3 separate regions of the Homo sapiens genome follow, and all the other regions are linked to region 1. Evidence: promoter capture Hi-C in 16 types of primary human blood cells and fetal thymus (Javierre and others, 2016). All regions are on one chromosome and are shown on one strand. The core of a region is centred on a gene start or on the middle of the fragment in contact, and the rest is flanking DNA. Distances in the headings are between cores, read along the strand shown. Region 1 holds the start of ARHGAP5-AS1 (ARHGAP5 antisense RNA 1 (head to head)). Region 2 overlaps G2E3 (G2/M-phase specific E3 ubiquitin protein ligase). Region 3 overlaps G2E3 (G2/M-phase specific E3 ubiquitin protein ligase).

What was found. The method cuts DNA at HindIII sites, captures the fragments that hold promoters and counts their contacts. A CHiCAGO score of 5 or more calls a contact.
Region 2: a fragment that was not itself captured here is called in contact with the fragment with the promoter of ARHGAP5-AS1 in region 1 in 2 of 17 cell types (fetal thymus and naive CD8 T cells); the score reaches 11.5 in fetal thymus.
Region 3: a fragment that was not itself captured here is called in contact with the fragment with the promoter of ARHGAP5-AS1 in region 1 in 2 of 17 cell types (activated CD4 T cells and total B cells); the score reaches 6.0 in activated CD4 T cells.

Annotation. Positions count from the first base shown.
Region 1 is chr14:32,074,681-32,078,714 of GRCh38, reverse strand. ARHGAP5-AS1 (ARHGAP5 antisense RNA 1 (head to head)) reads left to right here and starts at 2,016. Exons shown (of 1, transcript NR_027263.1): 1 at 2,016-3,296. It overlaps ARHGAP5 (Rho GTPase activating protein 5), which reads right to left and starts at 1,411. Exons shown (of 7, transcript NM_001030055.2): 1 at 1,280-1,411. RefSeq lists silencers at 1,058-1,352, 1,151-1,370, 1,731-1,990. The HindIII fragment of the contact is 3,747 bases long and covers 710-4,034 here.
Region 2 is chr14:30,616,907-30,621,010 of GRCh38, reverse strand. It overlaps G2E3 (G2/M-phase specific E3 ubiquitin protein ligase), which reads right to left. Exons shown (of 15, transcript NM_017769.5): 15 at 947-4,104. Among named protein-coding and RNA genes, the nearest start is that of SCFD1, 3.4 kb to the left of the region's middle. The HindIII fragment of the contact is 4,510 bases long and covers 1-4,104 here.
Region 3 is chr14:30,566,046-30,570,419 of GRCh38, reverse strand. All of the region lies in intron 1 of G2E3 (G2/M-phase specific E3 ubiquitin protein ligase), which reads right to left. All of the region lies in intron 2 of G2E3-AS1 (G2E3 antisense RNA 1), which reads left to right. Among named protein-coding and RNA genes, the nearest start is that of G2E3, 9.1 kb to the right of the region's middle. The HindIII fragment of the contact is 825 bases long and covers 1,364-2,188 here.

The DNA.
Region 1 (4,034 bases), core at 767-3,266:
ATGAAGTGAACGAGATCCTTCATGCGGATAAACACCACCTAACATTCTAACTGAATACTGGTTCTGGATTTAAGTGGAATTGACAAACTCGCCCCCCGCCCCTACCTGTAGAAAGCAACATAAGCAAGTACTAGTAAATACAGCGAAGCATTTTGCTGTTTTACACCTGAACATTTAAAAAAAAATTCAGTTTCCTGCCTATCACAAAGGAAAAAATAAATGATCGATAAGAATTTAAACTTAAAACGTAAGCACAAACCCATCTATATGCCTATCTTGCTCTATCTCAAAATATTTGAATTCCCATTTATTAAGCGATGGCCAAATCCGAATTTCTATCACATGGTAGAAGTATAAGCGTCTCCCCTACAACTTTTTCGGGATTTTACTAAACGGCCTAATAACAGTTTGCCCTTACTTCCGTGCACCTTTCAACCTCAGCTACACCCCGAGCCTCCAGCTCTCTTGCATTTCTAATAACGCTGAAGAGGGAGGGTGAGAGGGAGTATTTCTGTGTGGATAAGTGCGCGCGCGCTCCCGCGCGGCTCCCCACCCCCACCCCGATACTTTTCTTTAGTGGAAAGAGAGGAAGAATCTGGAGGTTATTCTAGCGAAAACTCAGTATCAAAGCCTCAACCCAGTCGCAGTCAGCCCATAGGACTCTGGGCTCTGGATGCGCAGTGCAACTTCTCATATCTTACTCCAAGCTTCAAAGCAGATGGAAAATTGGTGAAGAGAACCCAGGGAGGAGTCGAGGAGATGAGGGAAAGTGAAAGGGCCGATCCCCCCTACAAGGCGTTTAAGTTTGCAACCGAGACTGTGTTTCCGCGAATCTGCACCCGCCCCGTGTACCCTTTCCAGGTGGAACTCGTTAACAGCAGCAACCCGGCCAACGGACACCGCCACCTCCCCTCTCGACGGACCACCCGAGACTCGAGCAAGTGAGGCGGCGGGCGAGAGCGGACGCCTGGCGGGGCCGGCGATCCCCGGCCAGCATCAGGCCTCCGCCGACCCTGGCCCCGTCACCTGTGGAGAAAGCACCCCCTCCCCCGGCCTCTCTGCCCTTCACGCCGAACGTATCCCTAACGCTGCAGCTGCTGCCCGCCCGGCCTGCGAAAACCGAGCGCAGCGCCAGGCTCCCCTCGGCGGCCGCGGGGCCCCAGCCCCTTCAACTGGTTACAACCGGCAGCGGCGACCGAGCGGGGCAGCTAGCCGCAGGAGGGTCCCCGTCCGGGAGGGGGCAGGCAGGCTTGGAGGAGCGGGGTCCGCAAGGTCCTACCTAACAACGTCGGTCTCCTCCGTCTCCTCCTCAACGGCAGCGGCCCCGGCGGTGGCGGCGGCAGCGACATTCCTGGGGACCGCTCCCGCCGCCGCCGCCTCCTCCTCCACTCTCCGCTCGCCTCTCTTCCTCGGCGCGCTCACCGAGCGGCGCGTCCCTTCAGCCACCTCCCCCCGCCCTCCCCGACACACACGCCCCGAAACCCTGAGCCCCACGGCTCCCGCAGCCAGCTCACCCACCCTCCCTCCCTCCCTCCCCGCCACCAGCGGCGGCCCGTCCCTCCCCCCTTCCCCAGCGCCCGCCGCCGCGCCGGGCTCAGTAATGGCGGCCACTCGGGCTCCCTCGCGCTGACGGATTTCTCTCCCTCTCTCCCGAACTTTACCTCAGCATCTCTCCCGGCGCGCGCAGCCACACACCCGACCGGGGGCGGAGCGGCGGCGCGGCGGCGCAGCCTGGACGGGACGCGCGCGCGCGCGCGAACCCGCGCTGCCCTCCCCACAATCCCCCGTCCCCGCCCCTTCACCTCGCGACGCCTCCCGCGCCGCGCACCCGGCACGGCCCCGCCCCTGCCCTCGTCTCCCGGGAGCCTGGGAAGGCGCGAGCTATCCAGTCGGAGGGAGGGGGACGAGCGCGCGGGGCCGCGTCCTCGCTCGCGTCCCCGCTCCCTCCTCCCCTCTGCTTCTCCCTCCCCTCCACTCCCCCATTGGCTTCTACCCCTCCCCCTTCTTCCTCCGCCTCTCCCACCATTGGTTCCCTCCCCTACTCCATTCCTTCTCACCTTTTCCCTTTTACCCATTGGCGTGAGTATTTTTCCTCAGCTTCCCTCTTTCTCCGTATTCTGCTCCTCCTCAGTCCCATCCTCCACGCTTTGGAAGCTACTGCCTTACTGCCCGGAGCGCCGTCGTCCCCGAACCTCCCCTGCTTCTCCCTTTCCTTCTGTTCCGGTTTCTGGTCGTAACTCAAGAGCAAACCACCGTACTGCAAAGGAACCAGATATTGTGCTCGCGGTTCCAAACCGGGCATGGGCACCGAATGCTTCTCGATAAATCCCCTTATGGTCTCTGAGCATTAAAGAAAGCAAGGGAGGAAAACATGCGCCCAAGCTCGTTCGCAGGAACATGTTCGCGTGTCTGCGCCTGTGTGCGCAGCCAGTTTTCTGGCTGAGGATCGCTCGCCAACTACAGACATCACCCGCCCAGGACCCGGTGCCACACTCACCCAGAAGACGAAACTCCACAGGAGCGAGAAGAGGAGTCCATTTCTCCGTCGGCTCGGCACGGCACGGGGATGCAGGCCCCTGATTCAGTACGTTCTGTGAAAGTGGAGCGAGAAGCCAAGACGTGGATCGAGAAGCCCCGTGGGGCGGGTCTCAGGGTGGCCCAAAAGACCCCTGTTCACGCCACTACCAGCCTAACTTTAGGAACTGTCGTCCACCTGGCTTTTATTATACTGCCTTAAACATATTCACTTTTTTGAGACTCTAGAAATTTCACAAGTTTTGGGGTAGAGCACACTGGGCTTTGGGTGTGTTTCTCATGAGGGCACTGACGCTGAATGGTGCAGTGAGAAAGGACGGTAGAAACCACTGCCTTTGCTTTTACCATTGAAGAAACTGAGGTCCTGTGACTTTCCCGAGGTCATCGGAATCTGCCTTGCACAGGAGACTTAAAATAGTTGCCAGCAGATAAAAGAATGAGCAAAACCACATCTACTCCAATTTGTTAAGTCTGAAAGAAAGTAATTGAGGGGGGATTCCTCTTTGGGGAAATATTTATTTCCTGCATTGAAAATAGTTTAATGTTAGTAAACATATAAAAAGTATTTTAAATTCAAGTTATTCTTTATTTCTTATGTTACATAAGGTACTGAAGTTAGCCAAGGTTGCTTTTGTGTTATAATGATGCAGCTGCTGCCAACCAGAAGTACATTTACGGTCTGTCAGTAAAGAAAACAAAAACTGCCTGTTGGTAAAAATCTATTAGAAAATATTTGTCAGTAAATTTGTCACAATATTCCAGCAGAAGTTCTGTTCGTTTTTCCGTCTTCCTGCCCTTCATATTTCTCAAAGGTAGACTTAATAAAGGTAGAAGAGACATTTCTAATTTTTCTATATATCTCTTGCTCCCTAATTTCTAAAAGGCATAACTAAAATGCTTTATTCGAGCCACTCCCTTGCATCTGAACCCTACCTACCAAGTAGGTTAAGAGTAGGTTAGGTAAGGTCTGTAGCTACTTCTTTCTTTCAGTTACAAATTGTAGGTGGGAAAGAAGGATGCGGAAGGAAACTTGCAAGGAAAGCAAACAGAAAGAAAAAGAAGTAAAAAAGGAGAGAAGGGAATTTGGTGGGTGGTCCAACCATCAAAATGTGGTACTAATGCCATAGGTATCTACACCACTTATGTAAGTTGGAATGTTGATGCATTCCAACGCATGTTTTTATCTTTGTACTGAAAGCCCTTAAGAATACCCGAAGTAAACATATAAAAAGTATTTTAAGTTCAAGTTATTCTTTATTTCTTATGTTACGTAAGGTACTGAAGTTAGCCAAGGTTGCTTTTTAGTGTTATAATGATGCAGTTCAAAGTCATAACCTGAATAAGATGTTAAGTACTATAGAGTGTACACCCTAAAGATACCTTAAAAATTATGTCCTAAATAATCAGAAATTTTAATAATCATGGACATGTATCAACATAAACCAAAGCCAAATAAATCAGGGCTTCTAAAGAAAACGTTAAAAAGGTGTAATGTTCAG
Region 2 (4,104 bases), core at 950-3,449, 1.5 Mb after region 1:
TAGTGTGAAACACTGGCTTTTTTCATTAATAAAAATTTATTTTTGTGACATTTAAAACAGGTTATCTTATTACATAATCTCTGCCGGGTGCGGTGGCTCACGCCTGTAATCCCAGCACTTTGGGAGGTAGAGGTGGGCAGATCACCTGACGTCAGTAGTTCGAGACCAGCCTGGCCAACATGGTGAAACCCGGTCTCTACTAAAAATACAAAATTAGCCGGGTGTGGTGGTGGGCGCCTTTAATCCCAGCTACTGGGGAGGCTGAGGCAGGAAGAACTGCTTGAACCTGGGAGGCGGAGGATGCAGTGAGCAGAGATCGCGCCACTGCACTCCAGCCTGGGTGACTGAGTGAGATTCTGTCTCAAAAAAGAAAAAAAAATTATGTAATCTCATTTTTATAGCTAATTGGCACATTCATTAAGAAATTAACTGGAATACATGTGTGTCTTCAGTACTATTACTAATATTTTGAAGGAATCTTCAATGATCTAGGTGTGTTCCAACTAAACAAATTATTTCTGCCCTATGGGAAAGTTCTACTGCATTCTACAGTCTCTATGAAATATAAAATGTCTGAGAGCCCAATTTTGCTCATTTGGGTACTTCCACTTTCAAATGCAAATCCATCATTGAGCCACTTCAGTTCCATCACAGATTCTCTCCCAAGACTATGAGTCATGTTAAAACCACGAAGACAATTTTAAAATTGATGTACACTGCATATATATGAAATGATAAAAACTCCTGACCAAGTGCACAGAATGTGGGCAATAAATTTATAGAAAAATACACCTCACAGAAGAACAGCAACCATAGACAAATAGCCCTTGTAAGGCTGAGACTGAATAAGGTATTTGTTTTATTAGAATCAGAAAGACTGAAAATAATCTATGGCTACAGATTGTTCATTAACCTAATTTACTATAGCCATTTATCTGAGTCCAGATTTTTGGCTTAAATAATTTATTCTGGTAAGCTATTTTACATTAGAGGATACATAGTTTTAACACAGATTCCCTCATTTCTATAGGTTCCTGGGTGTCAGACACTAACTGCTTGCTTATAGGATCTCTCAAATGTGGAGAGTAAAGGAATCTTGTATCTTTCAGTTTCGTCAGAATCTTAATCTTATTAAATCCCAAAAAATTACTTAGTTTAAATAGGCAGTTTACCTTTAGTGGCATAAACACATTTATTTATTTATAAAACATTGTTATAAATGTCACGCTTTTTGGTTAATCTGGCAGTCTTTAAAAGGGGGGGAAATAGGCTGACATATAAACGATCACCTAGCATAATACCTGGCATAGTGTAGGTACTGGGATATGTTTATGAATTAGAAGAGATAATGGTCAAAATCAGAACTTGAAAACTGAGTCTCTTCAAGACAATCCAAATTTTCCTAAACCACAGATAATATACATTCAAGTAATTCATCATTAAATGGGTTATGTTTTGTATTGCATTACTTGAAGCATGAAACTTTGTATTGCATTACTTGAACCATAAAAACTAGTTTAATAGCTTATTTTAAAGTAACAATGCAGTACATGATAATCACTATATAAAAGAATTACATGTTTATAATGTAATGATTTTGTTCTGATCATTTTCTTATAATGACTGAATGCTAAAGGCACAGTCACTGAAAAAACTTACCTAATATACTCCCCTTGACTTAGTATTTAGCACTGAATACAAAAGTTCCAATAGCTTCCATATAATTAGGGGAAAAATTTACAAATGCATAAAATAGAAACCAAGGTGAATTCTCATGCTGGTAATCAATCAAAGGCTTTTTACTTAACCCAAACAAAAAAAGTCACTTCCTCAAATTACAGAAACTAAAAATTACAAAGTATAAAATTGTAAGTTTCTGGTGAGATATTTTAAAGAATATCTTGAATAGTAGAGAATTGTATAAAAGGTGTTAAAGTTTCCATATTGGAAAGTGTTTAAAAACAATGAATATCAAACTAACCAAAACCATTAACAGTAGATGCATTATAGATCAATTTATAGTTTTCCTCAACATTAAGAGCAAGAGAAAACAGCCTTAAAATATACAACATTTAGGCAATTGCAATATTTAAGAAATATATGTACACATTTATAAAGATTTATAGCATAATTCTTTTTTAAAATCTAATGTAAGAATTATGCACTGGTTATAAAATTAATAAGAAAAGAACAATTATAATACCAACCATTTGACAAAATGACACTGCAGAAAATAAATAACCTACAGGTTTCTCTGATATTCCTTGACCATACAGATTAATCTAAAAATGGTAATAATGGAACATCCTTCAAACTAGAAAACATTTTGCAAAATAAATATTTATGCTTCACTTTAAAACATGAATATCCTAAATTATTTACACCATCTTATCACTAAGGCCCTGTCTATATATAAAATAAGTCAAATGAGGAATTGAAATACTGTTTTTAATTGTAGCTAACCCAAGTACACTGCCTCTCCACCTGCCACCCCCACCCCAACAAAGTATGTGTGTGTGACTTAATCAGCTTTAATTTCTACCCTAGGGGAAATTAATTGCAACTAAAAACCAGAAAATAGCTTTAACTAGGTTTTATTGGTTTGTATTGGTTTTTAGCTGTAATAAAAATAAGGTGGATAAAGAAACAAATATCTTTTTATCAACATATTTGGAATAAAAACTGTATGGTGACTTTGGGGTTTATATTAGCTATTCAAACTCTTTGATAATTGATCTTTCAATTACTATTGGTGAGACAAAAAAATTCAACCAAAGCCAAAGAAATGTCTTGTTTAATGTTCTTAAATATTTCAAGTTAAAGTAAAACAAATTTGCTAGGTATGTTAGTGTACAGATTGAAAAAGACATGAGGGAACAAAGAAAAGTACACTAGAATTATGTTTTAGTTTTCCTTTGGTATTAAGAGATATATTATCTCTTTCAAATCTATTCTGTTACTTAAAAAATATCAATAATGTAATGATTTTTCTTAAGAAGGGTGAGAATACAACAGCTGACACCTGCTTTGTGTATTAAGAAAAATATGGTTAAAACATTTTACTTCCCATAATGATTTACTTTCATGGAAAACTGAACCATTATATCATTTAAATATGTTAATAGATTAAGGACATCAGACTTTGTTTTCCAATTTTTTCTTCTGTGGGAGTATAAATATGGGGACATGACTATGGGACTATATATTTTCACATTGTTAGCACTTTGTTAGTACAGTTACTTTTAGGTATTGTCTTTTAGTAGCATTATTAAAGTTAAAAAATAAAGGAAACAGAAGTAAAGAGTTTATAGAAGGATACACAGAAATACGGTACTTATCTCTGAGTGGTGACATTAGAATGGGTTTTTCATTCTATCCTTTTTACTTTATTTATACATTGCTTATATAACAGATATCATTCAAGAGCAATGAAGATAACTGTATAATGCTATGGCGTCAACTTACCTTAGCATACAACCAACTTGATAATAAATAATGGTCAAATGGCCAAACCTACCAATCCACAGAGATCATTCAAATATCTAAAATGATTATGGATCAGACATACAGAATACCAAACATAGGATACAAACAACAACAACAACAACAACAATTTCCCATGATTAAAGCCAAGGCTTTAAAGAAGACACACTTTCTTAGGTATTTTCAACTAAATGTTATCCACCTCAAAAGTGTTTAAGCTCATGGAATGTCCATAGATTCCAGAAAATTTGTGCAATTCTGTTTTTTTTTTTGAGATGGAGTCTTTGCTACATTGCCAGGCTGGCTGAGTATCTCGATTCTCCCACCTCAGCCTCCCTTATAACTGAGATTACAAGCACATGTGCCCAGCTTAATTCTGCTTTTTATATAATACTTCCCACTAGGCATAATCTAATTGCAGTGTGGGTCATCTTAATATAAATCAGTAATCTAAAAACATTTTAAACAACTAATTTGGTGACATCCTAGAAAAGTATGCATAGTAACACAAATCCCAGAATATATGACTCTGATTTATATAACAAAATTTAACCAATTAGCTTTTCTATTTAATGCTTTAAAATAAAATGAGGAATAATTTGAAAATTGAATAAACCTAGA
Region 3 (4,374 bases), core at 527-3,026, 1.5 Mb after region 1:
TTGAAGAAATAATAGCCAAAAACTTCCCAAATTTCATGGAAGACTGAAATCTATACAGGTAAGACTTCAATCTACACATTTTTAAGAAGCTCAAGATCTTTAATCAGGACAAATTCTAGGAGATCCACATTGAGACACAGTATAGTCAAACTGACAAAAACAAAGACAAAGAATCTTGAAAGCAGCAAGAGAGAAGTGATTAACACATACAAAATATCCCCAATAAGATTAAGAGCCAAATTCTCATTTGAAACCATAGAGTTCCAGAAGGCAGTGAGATGACATATTTAAAGTGCTGAAAGACAGGAAAAAAACCCAAACCTGTAAGCAAAGAATCCTATCTGCAGCAAAACTATGTTTCAAAAGTGAAGATGAGTACACATACTCACATGGGAGGCAGGCAAGTAAACAAATATTTCACACACATGCAGTGTAGCCTTACAGAGGTGGTGATATTATAACGTAATTGTGAAAAATAAATATTCTGAGCAGACAAGGCAGAAAAAGCATTCTAAGTAGAGTGTGTGCAAAGGTACAACAGTGTGTGAAAGCCTGGGATGTTTGGGGAATGTCAGGAATTTCTTCTGGAAGTTGCTCTTGCTGATTCTGCCATTTGGTTGGATTATATAAATCTCCTTGGATTGGATTATCAGATAGTAAGTAATATAATCCCCCCCCTTCACCAGCTGGTCCTAACCCTGACTTCGTGGGCAGGTCTTATTCCAGTCCTAGCCCCTTCCACTGACCAAGTCAGGCTCTAAATAACCAGCCCAATCCAAAGTACCCTTCTTAAAGCAGGTGGCATCTTTTTTACTACAGTTCAGGCAATAAAGGCTATTCTGTCACAACTCCCACAGAACCAGGTCTTCTCCTGTCTAAAAAATAAGGCCTTAATTATATTTTAACAGGACAATGTATCTGCTACCTTATGTGACAGAGCAATTAAACTTTTAAGATTCCAGGCAGGACCCAGGCAGAGGAACATGGCAGAAAGAACATTACACTTGAATTATACATTTTCTGTGTTTGAACTCCTTGCTCTGCCTTGTGTCCAATGGAGATGATAATACCTACCTATTAGGGTTCTTATATGCAAAGCAGGAGAAGTAATTCGATGGAGAGAAGGAAGGGTGAAAGGAATTCAGAAAGATCAGAAGTTTCTGAGATCAAGAAAGACCATAAAGTTTTTAGGTCCCTAACTGTTAATGGTGGTTATCCCTGGGGAGAGAGAAGGGGTAGGGGCTTTTTCTTTTAATTTCTTATAAATTTTGGCATTGTTTGACTTTTTACAATGAACATAATTATGTACTTAAAATATATTTGGCATATATATTATACCTCAATAAAAAGTTTCTTAAAAGCTTATATTCTCTGGAAAATCATCCAGGAGACAGACAAGAATGGCTGTTTCTCAGAAGGTCTGGTAGACCTGGGGTCTAGGGTGAAAGGGAAACTTTTAGTAGATCTGTCCTACTAGAGATGCTAATGGGACACCAGACAGTAAGTCAAAGCCATACGAGGAAATAAAAACACCAGTAAAGGTAATTACAGAAGTAAATATAAAAGCCAGTAGTATTATTGCACTTTTGGTAATTCTCTTTTTCCTTTATGATTTAAAAGAAAAACACGTAAAATAAATATAAATCAATGTTATTGGGCACATTATGTATAAATGTAAAATAAGCAAAAAATATAAAATGTAATTTGACACAATAACATTTAGGAAGAAGGATGAGATATACAGAAGTGTAATTTTTGTATACTATGAAAGCTGAGTGGGTATTAATTCAAACTAGGTTGTTATAAGTTTAAGATATTAATTGTAATCCCCAAGATAGCCACTAAGAATATAACTAAAAAATATGTGCAGAAAAGGTAATGAGAAGGGAATCAAAATGGTACACTATACAAATCAATTAAACAAAAGGCAATAAGGAAGGAAATGAGGAACAGAAAGATAGTATTTAGAAAACAAATACTAAAATGTCAGAAATCCTTCCTTAACAGTAATTAAATGTAAATGAATTACACGCTCCAATTAAAAGGCAAAGGTTGACAGAATGAATTTTTTTAAAATCCATACATACACTATCTACTAGGGTCAAGCTATAGATATCAAAACACAAATAGATGGAAAGTAAAATGACAGAATAAGATACTTCATACAAACAGTAATCAAAAGTAAGCTTGGGTGTTTATACTAATGTCAGACAAAACAGGCTTTAAGTTGAAGATTGTTACAGGACTCAAAGGACATTAAAGACTGACTAAAAAGTTCAATCCATCAAGAAGACATGACAATTATAAACACAAACCCACCTAATAAGAGCCCCAAAATATACAAGGCAAAATTTGACAGAAATGAAAGGAGAAATAGTTTAGACTTAACATATACAGAACACTCCACCCTACAACAGAATGAAACATTCTTCTCAAATGCACGTGGAACAATATCCATGGATATACCATGTTAGACCACAAAATAATACATTTTACAAGACTGAAATCACACAAAATATCCTCTCCAATGACTATGGAATGAAACTAGAAATCAATAAAAGGAAAACTGGAAAACTGAGAAACATATGGAGATTAAATAACAACTTTAAATAGACAAAAAGTCAAAAAAGAAATCACAAGGGAAATTAGAAAATACTTAGAGACAAATAAAATCAAGCCCCCAAAACAATGACCCAACTATATGCCCAAAGAAACTAGAAAAAGACCAAACTAAACCCAAAGCTAGCAGAAGGAAGGAAATAATTTAGAGTCCAGATAATGTAATAAAAAAATTTTTAAATTGAGAATCAATAAAATAAAAATTGCTTGAGAAGATCGACAAAATTGAAAACGTTTAGTTAGATGACCCAGAGAAAAAAAAGAGAAGACTCAAATTACTAAATCAGAAGAAATGAAAGTGGGACACTGCTACAGACCTAATACAAATAAAAAGAATTAAATGAGACTATTATGAACAATTGTACTCTAAGAAGTTAAAAGTTAACAAATTAAACAATAGGTTAAACAAATAACAAAAGTGACAAGAAGAAATAGAAAATTTCAACAAATCTACAAACAAGAGATTGAATCACTAATGAAGAACCTCCCAACGAATAAAGTCCTAGCCCAGATGGGTTCACTGGTGAACCCTATTAAACCTTTGAAGAAAAATTGGCACCAATCTTTCTCAAACCCCTCCAAAAGATATTATGACACTTCCTAACTCATTTTATGAAGCCACCAATACCCCGATACCAAAGCCAGAAAAAGACATCACAGAAAATAAAACTACAAGCCAATTATCTCTTATGAACATAGATGCAAATATCCTTAACAAACTACCAGCAAACTGATTCTGATAAAGAAAATTTTGTACCATAACCAAGTGGGATTTATCCCAGAAATGCAAAGGTGGTTCAGCATATGGAAATCAACCAATATAATATACCATACTAATAGAGAAAAAGGAAAAGGTCACATGCTCATCTCAATAGATGCAGAAAAAGCATTTGACAAAATACAACTCATTGATGATAAAAACACTCAAACATTTAGGAATATAAGGGAACTTCCTCAGCATCTATGGAAAAACCTGTAATTAACATAATTATCAGTGAAAGACTGCACACTTTCCACCTAAGATCTGGAACAAAACAAAGATACACACTTCCACCACTTGTAGTCAACACTGAACCAGAAGGTCTATTCAGAATAATAAAGCAAGAAAGCAAGAAGTAACTCTATTCAAAGAAGGCATGATCTTATATGTAGAATTTCCTACAGAATTCACAAAAAACTGTTAGAGCTACTAAACGAATTCAGCTAAGTTACAGGATGCAAGATCAACACACAAATATCAGTTGTATTTCTATATAACAATGAACAATCCAAAAAGGAAATTAAGTAAACAATTCCATTTACAATAGCATAAAAATTACTTAGTAATAAATTTAACCATGGTGGTGCAAGATTTTTGCACTGAAAACTACAAAACAGTGCTGAAAGAAATTAAAGAACTGTAAATAAATGAAAAGACATTTTGCATCCATAGGTTGAAAAACTATTTCATTAAGATGGTTATACTCCCCAAAGCAATTTATGGATTTGATACAATTCCTGTCAAAATCCCGATGGCCTTTTTTTGCAGGAATGGAAAAGCTAAGCCTAAACTGCAAGGGATCCTGAATAGTCAAAAGGATCCCCAAAAAGAAAAAGTTGGAGGATTCAAATTTTCCAATTCCAAACTTACTACAAATCCACTGTAATCAAGACAATGTGGTACTGGCACAAGGACAGACATACACATCAATAGAAAAGAAGAAAGAGTCAATAAATAAACTCACGTTTTATAGTAAACTAATTTTCAATAAGGGT